Regions from separate parts of the Homo sapiens genome. Here region 2 is linked to region 1. The links are contacts of gene promoters, found by promoter capture Hi-C in blood cells and fetal thymus (Javierre and others, 2016). All regions are on one chromosome and are shown on one strand. The core of a region is centred on a gene start or on the middle of the fragment in contact, and the rest is flanking DNA. Distances in the headings are between cores, read along the strand shown.

Evidence for each region. Contacts are between HindIII fragments. The CHiCAGO score rates a contact against its expected background, and 5 or more counts as called.
Region 2: a contact is called between the fragment with the promoter of CSNK2A2 here and the fragment with the promoter of SPMIP8 in region 1, in 17 of 17 cell types (total B cells, fetal thymus, non-activated CD4 T cells and 14 more). The highest score is 27.6, in total B cells.

Annotation. Positions count from the first base shown.
Region 1 is chr16:57,973,448-57,979,309 of GRCh38, forward strand. It overlaps SPMIP8 (sperm microtubule inner protein 8), which reads left to right and starts at 3,097. Exons shown (of 8, transcript NM_199456.3): 1 at 3,097-3,187; 2 at 4,368-4,592. The coding sequence starts at 4,370. The HindIII fragment of the contact is 9,202 bases long and covers 802-5,862 here.
Region 2 is chr16:58,195,549-58,201,410 of GRCh38, forward strand. CSNK2A2 (casein kinase 2 alpha 2) reads right to left here and starts at 2,558. Exons shown (of 12, transcript NM_001896.4): 1 at 2,085-2,558; 2 at 1,185-1,296. The coding sequence starts at 2,188. It also overlaps the pseudogene RN7SL645P. RefSeq lists silencers at 1,992-2,061, 2,462-2,731, 2,782-2,911. The HindIII fragment of the contact is 2,827 bases long and covers 1,089-3,915 here.

The DNA of each region.
Region 1 (5,862 bases), core at 1,847-4,346:
AGAGGTCTACAGGAGATAGAAATTTTGGAGGCCTCAGCTTGCAGATGATGCTTAAAGCCACAGGACTGACTGATATCACCTCGGAAACCCAAGGAAACAAAGATGACCAGAGGTGGCACCTGGAACACGGGCTCACTCAGAGGATGCAAAAAGAGCAGGAGCTGGTAAAGGAGCCTGAAGGAGCTGCCAGGGATGGGGATGGAGAAGCAGAAGCATGGGGTGAGGTGAAAGCCAAGAGTAGTGGCTGTGTTGGGGTGAGGGAATGATCCAAGGGGCCACTGTCTGAGCTGAGACTTGAAATGCGTCCTGAGATTGGGCAACTTAGAGGCAGTTGGAGCCCCTGCAGAGTGGGAAGGAGGGAAAATTAGATGAGCCTGAGGGAACAGTAGTGGGCTCTAGGGTGGGGAAAATGAGCAAAACACAGCCACACACAGTGGCTAAAGTTTGGATGAAACTCATGTGCATATATATGGAGAGAAAGAAGCCAGATTCAAAAGAAGACCCCAGTGATCCATGCATACAAAATTCCCAAAAGGCAAAATTAGTCTGTCCTGTCTATGGCTACAAACACAAGTACATTTGCCACCTCTAGTTTTCTATAAAGCCTAGAGTTGTTAAATAAAGTTTTCCATAGTTGCCCATAAATAAAAGCACAGGTTGTACTACAAGATGGGAGAGTGGTTCCTTCTTGCTGGGTTGGGGGTTGTAATTGGGAAGGTGTATGTGGAAGCTTCTAGGGACTGGCAGGGCCAATGTCTTGCTTTCTTTTACTAACTTGGCTGGCATCTATTTTTCAAAACAAGCTTATGGGAATATATATGCCATAAAATTCACCCATGGTAAGTATACAACTCAATGACTTTTATATTACTTATTATTTATTTATTTATTTAAGACAGGGTGTCACTCTATCACCCAGGCTGGAGTGCAGTGGCGTGATCATAGCTCACCGCAGCCTCGACCTTCTGAGCTGAAGTGATTATCCCACCTCAGCCTCCCAAGTAGCTGTGACCACAGGCACATGCCACCATGCCCATTTAATTTTCATATTTTTTGTAGAGACAGGGTTTCGCCATGTTTCCCAGGCTGGTCTCGAACTCCCGGGCTCAAGCAATCCACCCACTCGGGGTTCCCAAAGGGCTGGAATTACAGGCGTGAGCCACCGCCCCGGCCTAACTCATGATTTTTAACACATTGACTGAACTGTGCAACTCTTGCCACATCTGGTTTTAGAACATTCCCGTTGCCCCAGTAAGACCCCTCACACCAGATGATAACCACTCTTCATTCGTACACCCCAGTCCCAGGCAACCACACATCTGCTTTCTGCGTCTATAGATTTGTCTTTCCTGGACATTTTATATAAATGGGTCATACAATATGTGAGTTTTCACATCTGGCTTCTTTGATGTAGCGTAATGTTTTATGAGGTTCATCCACCTCGTAGCTTGTATCAGAACTTCATTTCTTTTCATTGCCCAAGAGTATTGCATGGTATAGACGCACCACAGTTTATCCACTCATCAGTGGACACAGGTTGTTTCCACTTTTTGGCGATACATCATGTTGCTATGAACATTTGTGTGCAAGTCTTTGTGAAGATATATACTTTTTTTTTTTTGAGACGAAGTCTTGCTCTTGCCGCCCAGACTGGAGTGCGATGCTGCGATCTCGGCTCACTGCAACCTCCGCCTCCCAGGTTCAAGCGATTCTCCTGCCTCAGCGTCCTGAGTAGCTGGGATTACAGGCTTGCACCACCACGCCCAGCTAATTTTTGTGTTTTCAGTAGAGACAGGTTTTCACCATGTTGGCCAGGCTGGTCTCAAACTCCCAACCTCAAGTGATCTGCTCACCTCAGCCTCCCAAAGTGCTGGGATTACAGGTGTGAGCCATCGTGCCTCACAATATACTTTCATTTCTCTTGGGAAGCCTCCTGGGGTAGAATCTTCCAGATGACCCAATCATATGGTACATTTCTGTTTCATTTTTTAAGAAACTGATAAACTGTTTTAAAAGTAGTACTCCATGTCTTGACCAGGGTGGGTGGTAGTTATACGGGGTCTCATTTTGTAAATTATTAGTTACATTAGATATTTATTCACTTTCTGTATTTCTTCTATTTTATAACTTTAAAAGAGTCAAGAAATAAATTGGGGGTGGGGTGGTGAGTGGAGTCAACTCTGGGAAGGTTTTTTGTAAGGGGTAGCAGTTAGGAATGCTGTTCTGGAAGCTGTATGGAGCACTGGAGGAGGAGCAACTGGGGAAACAAATCCTACAAGAATTTCACAGGAGGGGCTCCAAGACCCATCAGGTTCAGCCCCTGGGCAGGTATATGCAAAAGCACATGCCAATATATGCAAATAAGTTAGGATCTCCTGGGGTTTCCTCACCTTGGGGGTCTGTCTCTAATGGTTGTGACCAGGATGGTGGGCAGGCCCCAGGGCTTTGGGGTGCTGGCCTTGGGCACTCACAGCCTGGCTTTTCTGGGAGCCTGCAGTCCTGCAGGGGCTGAGGGTGGAGTATCATCTGCTAATCCCTGGCCTGCTGAGTCCACCACTCTCCCTGATCCCCTCACGCTTACCCTGGATACTGGCCACAGCTAATCTCCACTCCTGGAGACTCAAGGGCTGGCAGACAGTGCAGTGCCCTCTTCCCTGAGGGTTCCAGGGAGGGGAGATCCCTCTCAGCATCCAGATCCTCCTAACGGCAGATCCTAGAGTCCTTGCCTAACACAGAGGAGAGCCTTGAGTCCCAGAGAGAGGCGGTAATTAGCCCAGGATTACACAGCCTGCAGTGGGCTCAGTAGCCATTTCTGGCCTGCCTTGGCCTGACTACCTCCAGGGAACCCCAGCTCCCCATCTGACATTTCCCAAGATGCCTGGCCTGTGCTAAGGCCTGGGAGACCACAGCCTTCAGGAAGGCTGGAAGGGAGTGGCCAGAGCACAGGAATTCTGGCACAGGCTCTTGTTAGAGCCTGTAGTTGCCAGGGTTGCTAAGGAGTGGGTGCCTCAGAATCAGGCTGCAATGGGCATTGTCTGTGCACAATGTTCCTTTATTCTGCTGCTGTCCATAATAAGGGCTCGTCCACCTCCCTTCCTCTTCTGCCCATTGAGCAGTCAAAGAACTGAAAGTCCTTATAAGCCTGTGCACCTGGGCCTGGGCCCTACAGATAAGGTAGCTGCTATTGGTGAGTCAGAAGCAGGGAGCCCTTGCTCTCTTCCCCATATCCGTGATCCCCCTCCCTGTCCCTCCCCAGGCAGTCACATCCCCTAAGGCAGCTTCCCCATGCCTTGTCACCATGCCCCCTCCCTGCTCCTCCATGATCTAAGGTCCTCTCTCCTCCTGCCACCCTAGCTTCCACCTCCACCTCTCACCTCTAACTCAGGGTCAGGAAGAAAGCAAGCTGTCTCAACAAATTCTCACTAAAGTGTAAATGACTGAAAGGCTCCTGGGACTATCTGCTTTTTAAAGGGAGGCACTGGGTATCCAGTAATGCTTTTCTAGTTTAAATATATCATGTTGCTCCCCTTCCTGAAAATCTTTCTGAGTCAATCTGTAGAATTTTGGGTAAATAGCTAGGGCAAGTCCATAATTATTCACCCAGAGGTATACGGCATACTAAGCTACATTCTGAACCCGCTTGCTGCTGCACTTTCCTGCTTATTATTTAAGAATAGACTCGCCAGGCAAGGTGGCTCACACCTGTAATCCCAGCACTTTGAGAGGCTGAGGCGGGTGGATCACTTGAGGTCAGGAGTTCGAGACCAGCCTGGCCAACACAGTGAAACCCCGTCTCTACTAAAAATACAAAAACTAGTCACATGTGGTGGTGGATGCCTATAATCCCAGTTCCTCAGGAGGCTGAGGCAGGAGAATCACTTGAACCCAGGAGACAGAGGTTGCATTGAGCCAAGATGGCGCCACTGTACTTCAGTCTGAGCAGAAGAGTGAGACTGTCTCAAAAAAAAAAAAAAAAAGAAAAGAAAGAAAGAAAAAAAAACGAATAGACTCAAATACCACCTCTTTTAGACCATTCCTTGAATGTCCTAACCCCAGCCTCCCCAGAAACACACACTCTGTACTGACCTCCCTCACAGCCATGGCACAATGTGAGTGTGTGTGTGTGTGTGTGTGTGTGTATGTGTGTGTTGGAAGGGGAGTGGGAGGGTTGTCTCTGTTATCTTCTGTTATCTGAATGTTCCTGCCACCTCATGCTGAGCTCCAGAAAAATGGCCTGGCACACAGTAGGTGCTAAATAAATGTTTGGCAAGTAGACATCGGCACTGGCCAAGGTTGTTTTCATGCAGAGAAGGGTGTCTGGCCAGCATGAGCCCAGGGTGAGCCCCTTAGAACCCTCTGCCCCCCAGCTATGGCCCGCATCATTGACCTGGTGCCCTGGGACGATGGCTCCACACATGTGTATGCCTCCCCGGCCATCCTGCTTCCCATGGAGCGGCAGCGCAACCAGCTGGCGGGCGTGAAGCAGCAGCTCTACCACCCAGCCCTGCCCACCCTGCGCCACATGGACAGGGACACCGTCAAGGCCTGCCTTCCTGATGAGCACTGCCAGTCCACCACCTACTGCCGCAAAGGTTAGGACACCAGTGTAGGATCCCCTTTGGGGAAGGGGCAGATGGTTTCAGGAAAGAGGGAGACAGATGCAAGGATGAAAGAGGCCAGTCCCAGCTCTGCTGCTCCCTGCCCAGGACACTTTGGCCAGGTCTGAGCCTCTGTTTACTGCTCAGTACAATGAGGATAATTGACAAGGCCTACCTCAAAGTGTTGTTGTGGGGTTAGAAGGAGATAAGGCACAAAAAACACTTAGAGGCTGGGCGCAGTCCCAGCACTTTGGGAGGCCAAGGCAGGCTGATAACCTGAGGTCAGGAGTTTGAGACCAGCCTGGTCAACATGGTGAAACCCCATCTCTACTAAAAATACAAAACTTAACCAGGCGTGGTGGCAGGCACCTGTAATCCCAGCTACTTGGGAGGCTGAGGCATGAGAATTGCTTAAACCTGGGAGGCGGAGGTTGCAGTGAGCCGAGATCACATCACTGCACTCCAGCCTGGGCAACAAGAGTGAGTCTCCGTCTCAAAAAAAAAAGCACTTAGAGTAGTGCCTGGCACATAATATGTGCTCAAAAAGTATTGCTGATGCCATTGTTGTTATTGTTGTTTTGTTTTTTGAAGACAGTGTCTTACTCTGTCGCCCAGGCTGGAGTGCAGTAGCATGATCACAGCTCACTGCAACCTCGACCTCCCAGGCTCAAATGATCCTCCCATCTCAGCCTCCCGAATAGCTGGGACCACAGATACGTGCCACCCTGCCCTGCTGATTTTAAAAAATTATTTGTAGAGACAGGGTCTCCCTATGTTGCCTAGCCTGGTCTCAACTCCTGGGTTCAAACGATCCTCCTGCCTTGGCCTCCCAAAGTGCTGAGATTACAGGCATGAGCCACTGTGCCTAGCCTGTTGTAATTAATGGAGAGAGAACTGGGCAGAGGTTGACAGGTGCAGTGGTAGGAGTCATAACAGTAGTAACTTCTGCCCAAGCATCTCTGTATGTGGAAAAGAGAGAGAAAGACCTCTCCTCACAGCCCCCATGCAGGAGAGGAAGACGTGTGGGCCTTCAGGGCAAAAGAGCCCCACGGGCCTAGTGAATAACCCCGCATGGACTGAGGAGCTTGCGTGTGGAGGGATTTAGAAGGTATTTAGCAGATAAAGTCAACAGGAGTAGGTGCAGGCGGGGCAGGGTAGGAGGCCAAACAGGGGGAGTGCAGGCCCATACCTAGGCTCCAGCTTGGGTGACAGGTGGGCTGAGGGTGTCAGAGACCGCACGGAGATTACCAGAGTTGCCACATGG
Region 2 (5,862 bases), core at 1,308-3,807, 220 kb after region 1:
CAAAGTGCTTACATCACTCTTCGGTCTTCTCAATCTCTCACTAAATGACTTGTATCCACATGAAATGATCCGGCAATAACGAGGACCCATCACAGATTCTAAGAACTACTTTTTACTATACCCTATAAAACATTATTAAAGCTACACAATCAGTTACCAGAAGGAAAATTTAGCCGACCCTTCATGCTAATTAAAATCATCTTCATCAAAGAGATAACGTCATATCATTATCAAATTCATTGCTAAACCATATATTAAGATAGTTTTGTTCCAATTATTACTTTAGTAATTATACATGAACTCTTCTATATTTTTACTAGCTTATAAGCAACAATGGCTCTCTGGCTTCCCAACAAGGCTTCTCAGCACTACTGGTGCACTGTATCCATACCACCTGAAACTTTACTGCCAAAGGAAAAAAACAAGTGATTATCCGCTAAGGAATTTCCTTCCACTTGGGCTTGAAATACATTTCTGAAGTCGCTCCAATTTTTTCCAACTTTCTTTCTGGAATAACATACAGCATGCACCAAGAGTAACAAACACAGTGCTCAGGGAGCCCTTAAATTGAGAGTGGCTTTTCTGTCTTTTGATTACCTATTTATTTTCTAACAAACGGAGCCCTTTTGGAATTTTTGCTTTAGGGAATTTACATTTTAGAACAAACACTTTACTGAACTTAGATTTGTGATGTCTGCACATTTTCTTGAAAGTTCATGGGAAAATGGGGTGGAAAAAGAAGTAATGAAGGGACATCAGATAAATAAAATTTGAGCGTCGGCTGGGCACAGTGGCTCACGCCTCTAATCCCAGCAACTATAGGAGGCCTGCAAGGAGTCCTTTTGGAGGACTGCTTGAGCTCAGGAGCTTAAGACCAGCCTGGGCAACATGACCAGACCCTGACTCTACAAAAAAATTTTAAAAATAGCTGGGCGTGGTGGCATGCACCTGTAGTCCCAGCTACTTGGGAGGCTGAGATGGATCACTGGAGCCCAGGAGTTGAAGGCTGCAGTGAACTATGATCTGCACTCCAGCCTGGGTGACAGAGTGAGACTCTGACTCTAAACAAATAAATTAAATTAAATTCAAGCTTGCATTGCCCATTATAGAATGTGACTGGGGTACCTTACAAACTTTTGCCCTGTGGGGAGGAAAATGTTACATACCACTCATAGGACACTCACCTTCAGGATTTTTACAACCACTCTCTCATTGTTGGTGATATTAATGGCCTCAAATACTTCACTATATTTTCCCCGACCAAGTTTTCGAACCAGTTGGTAATCATCTTGATTACTGTAAAAGGAAGACACACACATAAATGCCAGGACTGGGGGTTAACCAAGCCTATGCCCACTGTACACGTCATTCAGCCGCTTCCACCAGGCAAACACTTGGAAGTGTCTATACATCACGTCACAACTCATTCCCTAAATGAAAGCCACGACATAATCTTGGCTCCCTTCACTCTGCAGAGCTCCTAACCTAATTGGTCTCTCCTAACTTGGGAAGATGGGGCAGGAAGGCAACGCTCTGAGCCAATCCAGAGGGGCGAGCAAAGCACCCGTCCTGAAGGCCTAGAGGGTGCCCCCTGTGCCCCGCGGCTCCCCAGCACCTGCTTCTCGTTTCACATCTTCAAGGTAGACAATGCCTGTTTTAAAAATCTGGACGTCTTTAAGAAATTTCCTCCCACCACCTCATCTCAGAAAACCTAAAAGGCAGGGCATTTTAATAGCTCCAAAGGACAGCTGTTGACTTCCCACCCCAGTGGAAACCCAGAAGTGTGAGGAAGGGCAGCTCCCTCACTTCCACCCGGCGTCGATCCCTGGACCCCACACTTCTCCCCGAGTAAAAAAGCATTCCTTGGGGGAAAGGGGTGCGCAAAGCGGGGAGAAAGGGACGAAACGGGGGTAAAGGGGAGGGAAGAGGAAGACGAGGACATGTGCGAGAGCGGGACCTCTGCCTCCCTGCGGGCCCGCGGAGGGGTCGGCGGGAGACACCACCGGGCCCGAGTGCGGTTCGCAGGGGGTGGCCGGGCGGGGGCAGGGATCAGCGGGCCCGGCGGGGGGCGGCGACGGCTTTACCCCCAGCTCGGGACGTGAGCCTCGTAGTCCCAGTACTCGCGGCTCCTCAGACTGTTCACCTCGGCGTAGACCCGGGCCCTGCTGCCCGCGGCCGGGCCGGGCATGGCGGGCGGGACCGGGGGGCGGCGCGGGGCGCAGAGGGTGGCGGCGGCGGCGCGGCGGGGGACGCGGGGCGTCGGGCGGAGGAGGCAGCGGGCCGCCGGGCGCTGGAGGAGGAGGAGGAGGAGCGCGGCGGCGGGCGGCCGCGCCAGGCCGGGCCCGCGGGGGCGGGCGGGCTGGGGGCGCGGGGGGCGCCGGCCGAGCCGGCCCGGCCCTGGAGCGGCCGGCGGGGCGGCGGGGCGGGCGGCGCTCGCGCTCCGCGGCGGTCTCCGCTCGGCTCGCGGCCCCCAGGAGGCGGCGGCGGCGGCACCGGCAGCGGCAGCCACCGGCCGGGAAAGGGGCAGCGGCGGCGGCAGCGGAGAAGAAGGAGGAGAGGAGGAGGAGGCGGAGGAAACCCGGAAAAGGGGCCGCGCTCACTGGGAGCGGCCGCCGCCCGGCCTGGGGCCGCCCAGGCTCACAGCGCCCCCTGGAGCGCGGGGGGACCCGCCGGGCGGTGCCGGCCCCGCCCCGGCCCCGCCCCGGCACGCCCCGCCGCCTACCTCGCGCCCTCCGCCACCCTCGCCCTCCCGCCGCCACAGGTCGGACTGTCCAAATCGCCTCACCCTCGGGCTGGCTTGACTTCACGCCACAGGAGCCCCCCCTTCCACTGGCCGTTGCCCTAGAGCCCTCGCCCGCGACTCCCGACCCTTTCACTGTCCTTGGAGACCCTATCCCCAGCCCTGCACTCACCCAGCTTTTACCCACCCAACACATCCCATACTGACCCTATTCTGACCCTCCTGTCACCCAAACTGTCAAGTCCCTCCCCAGGGCCTCACTCAAACCTCAGAACCTCCCCCACCTCAATACTTCTCCCTTCCCCCGAGACATACCCCTCCTTCCCCCTCTGGACCCTGCCCTGTTAGGGTAGACTCCTCAGTCCCCAAGGCTTCCTACCCCCGTCATTCAGAGTGCTCCTCACAAAACCTTTCTACACTTCCCCCAAATGCCCTTCCAGAGCCTTCCCTGAATATCCACTTTGGTCACTTGGTTAAGCTGGCATTGACCAGGTTGTGCCACTGCAAAGTTACAATTTTTCCCTTTGTGATTAATAAGTCATTTGTGGGGAGAGACTTTGAGAGTGTAAATCTCCTGTTTGTGTTTAGGAGGAGGGAGAGCAGGAGAATTGCAAATCCGACCTGAAGGGACAGGCTGGGTTGGGGATGTGCCCAGAGTAGGTGGTCAACTGAGCTGGCCTGGCTTCCAGTGCTGCCTGCAGCCTTGAACACCCTTCTCCTTTGATCTTCTAGGCCTTTCTTCTGTCTTCCTTTCCCATCCCTCATCCTTTATCGACAGCACCTCTGCACCCAGTACAGGTTGCTTTCATTCCAGTCCCTTTTCACATTCTGTTTTCTGGATGAAACCCTGGGCCTTCCTGCTTGACACAGCTAAGAGCACAGTCTGTGGAGTCAGATCTATCCAGCACTGCTACTTAGAAGCTGTGTGACCTTAGGGCAATTACTCAACCTCTCTGTGTCACAGATTCTACAGCATAAAACCAGTAATAACGCTCACTTCACAGGGCTGCAAGGAGAATTAAACAAGGTAAACCATGTGAAACACTTAGGATGGTGTTCACTATTAGGATAGCATGTGTTCAATATGATTATTTCCAGGCCTAGGGCCTTTCTCTGCTCATTCCTCCCTCCCTGAGACCACCGTGCATCCGTCTTTTGGTTCCTTCTATCCTCCAAGCTTAACTAGGAGCCACCCCCAACCCCTCCACCCCACCTTCCCAAGGGTGTCTCCTTTTTCCTATTCAAATTTCACCTTTTTCTTTATTAGTAGTATTTTTTTAGAAATAGGGTGTCTCTATATTGCCCAGGCTGGAGTGCAGTGGCTATTCACAGGCATGATCCCACTACTGATCCGAACAGGAGTTTTGACCTGCTGTTTGCCACCTGGCAACCTGGTGGTCCTCCAGCCCCAGGAGGTCATCATAGTTGATGCCAAACTTAGTGTGGACACCTGATTGGCATTGCACACTACAGCCCAGAACTCCTGGGCTCAAACGATCTTCCCACCCCAGCCTCCTGAGGAGTTGGGACTACAGGCATGCCTCCAGCTCAAGTCTCAGCTTAAAGATCACTTTCTCTAGAGTTGATACTTCTCTATCTCAGCACCCTATCCACGTCCTTCATCAAACTGCATATCTTGTCATTATTTGTTTCCTGGGTTATTGTCTGTCCCCTCCTTTGTAAAAACAGCACAAGAGCAAGGACAGAGTGTGGGCGCTCACCACTGACTCTCCCAGCATTTGCCACAGTCAGAGACCTTCAGTAAATACAGTGCTACCCCACAGATGACTTAGGAATTACCAAGGGGAAACGAGGTCACCACCTTACCCATGGTCCAAACTTCTCATCAGTAGGGAACCAACTGATCCTCTGATGTGATGCACTGAGAAGGGACACCTCCCCCATGTGGTCCTCCTGCCAAAACATTTAACCTGAATCTAATGATAAGGACACCATCAGACAAATCCAAGCTGGGCGACATTCTGCCAAACAGCTAGCCTGAGTTCTTCAAAAAGTCAATGTCACTAGGAGAAAGAAAACCAAACGAAACCCTAGATTCGTATTCTTGTTACTGAAGACTTAGAGACATAATTAGATGAAGTGTATGATTCTGAATTAGAGTCTGGATTTTTTTTTAAAGTAGAAAGGAAAGGAGGGAAAGAGAAAGAATACAGCTCATATTGGGCTGGTGCAAAAGTTATTGAAATTCAATTGAAAGTAATGGCGAAAACCGCAGTTACTTTTGCACCAACCTAATAGAAGGTTACTGCAGGGGAAATTTGAATATAGGATGTATATTACACAATGTTAATGTATATTACACAACGTTATATTGTATCAATGTTAAAGTTTGTGAGTATGATCATTGTATTTAGTTATGCAGGAGAATCCCATAATTTTAGGAGTTACATGCCAAGTGTGTAGAGATGAAGAATCAATATTTGCAACTTAGTCTCAAATTGTTCTCCAGGAAAATGTGGGTTTCTGAGAGCATAAGCATGCATAGAGTGGGGAGGAATTGGGGGAAAATTTTGATAATTAGTGAATGTAGTTGAACAGTACATGAGCTTGCAATTTTTTGGTAGAATTTGAAAATTTTCAAAATAAAAACTAGAAAAAAAAATTAATGGAAAAAGTGGACTTTGGAATTTAATTCCTGAACCTGCAAACCTTTCTAAATCTCTTTCACTCTAGAAGACATAAATATCCTCAAGCTCTTAATGCAGCTTTAGGATTTGTTTCTGACAAGTCCCTGTGAACTAGACCAGACCAGAGATTCTTAATGCCAGTCCTTGGATGAATTTCCCCAGTTCTGGGAACCCCTGACACAATATGCAGAATTTGTGGGTTTGTGTGTGTGTGTGTGTGTGTGCATGTGCGTGTGTGTGTGTGTCCATTCTTTCCTTAGCATACATCAGATTCTCAAAGGAGGCCATGACCCAAAAATGATTCCAAACCACTGGTTTAACTACTATGTCCAACCTCAGCTGGGGCCTCATTCCTCACCTCCACCCTCGCCCACCTCTGACCCCACCCACCCTCCGTGCACCTTCCTCTCATCCCTCACCACATAGCCCACACCCATCTCACGTAACCTGATCCCACACCTGCGGGATGCCTGA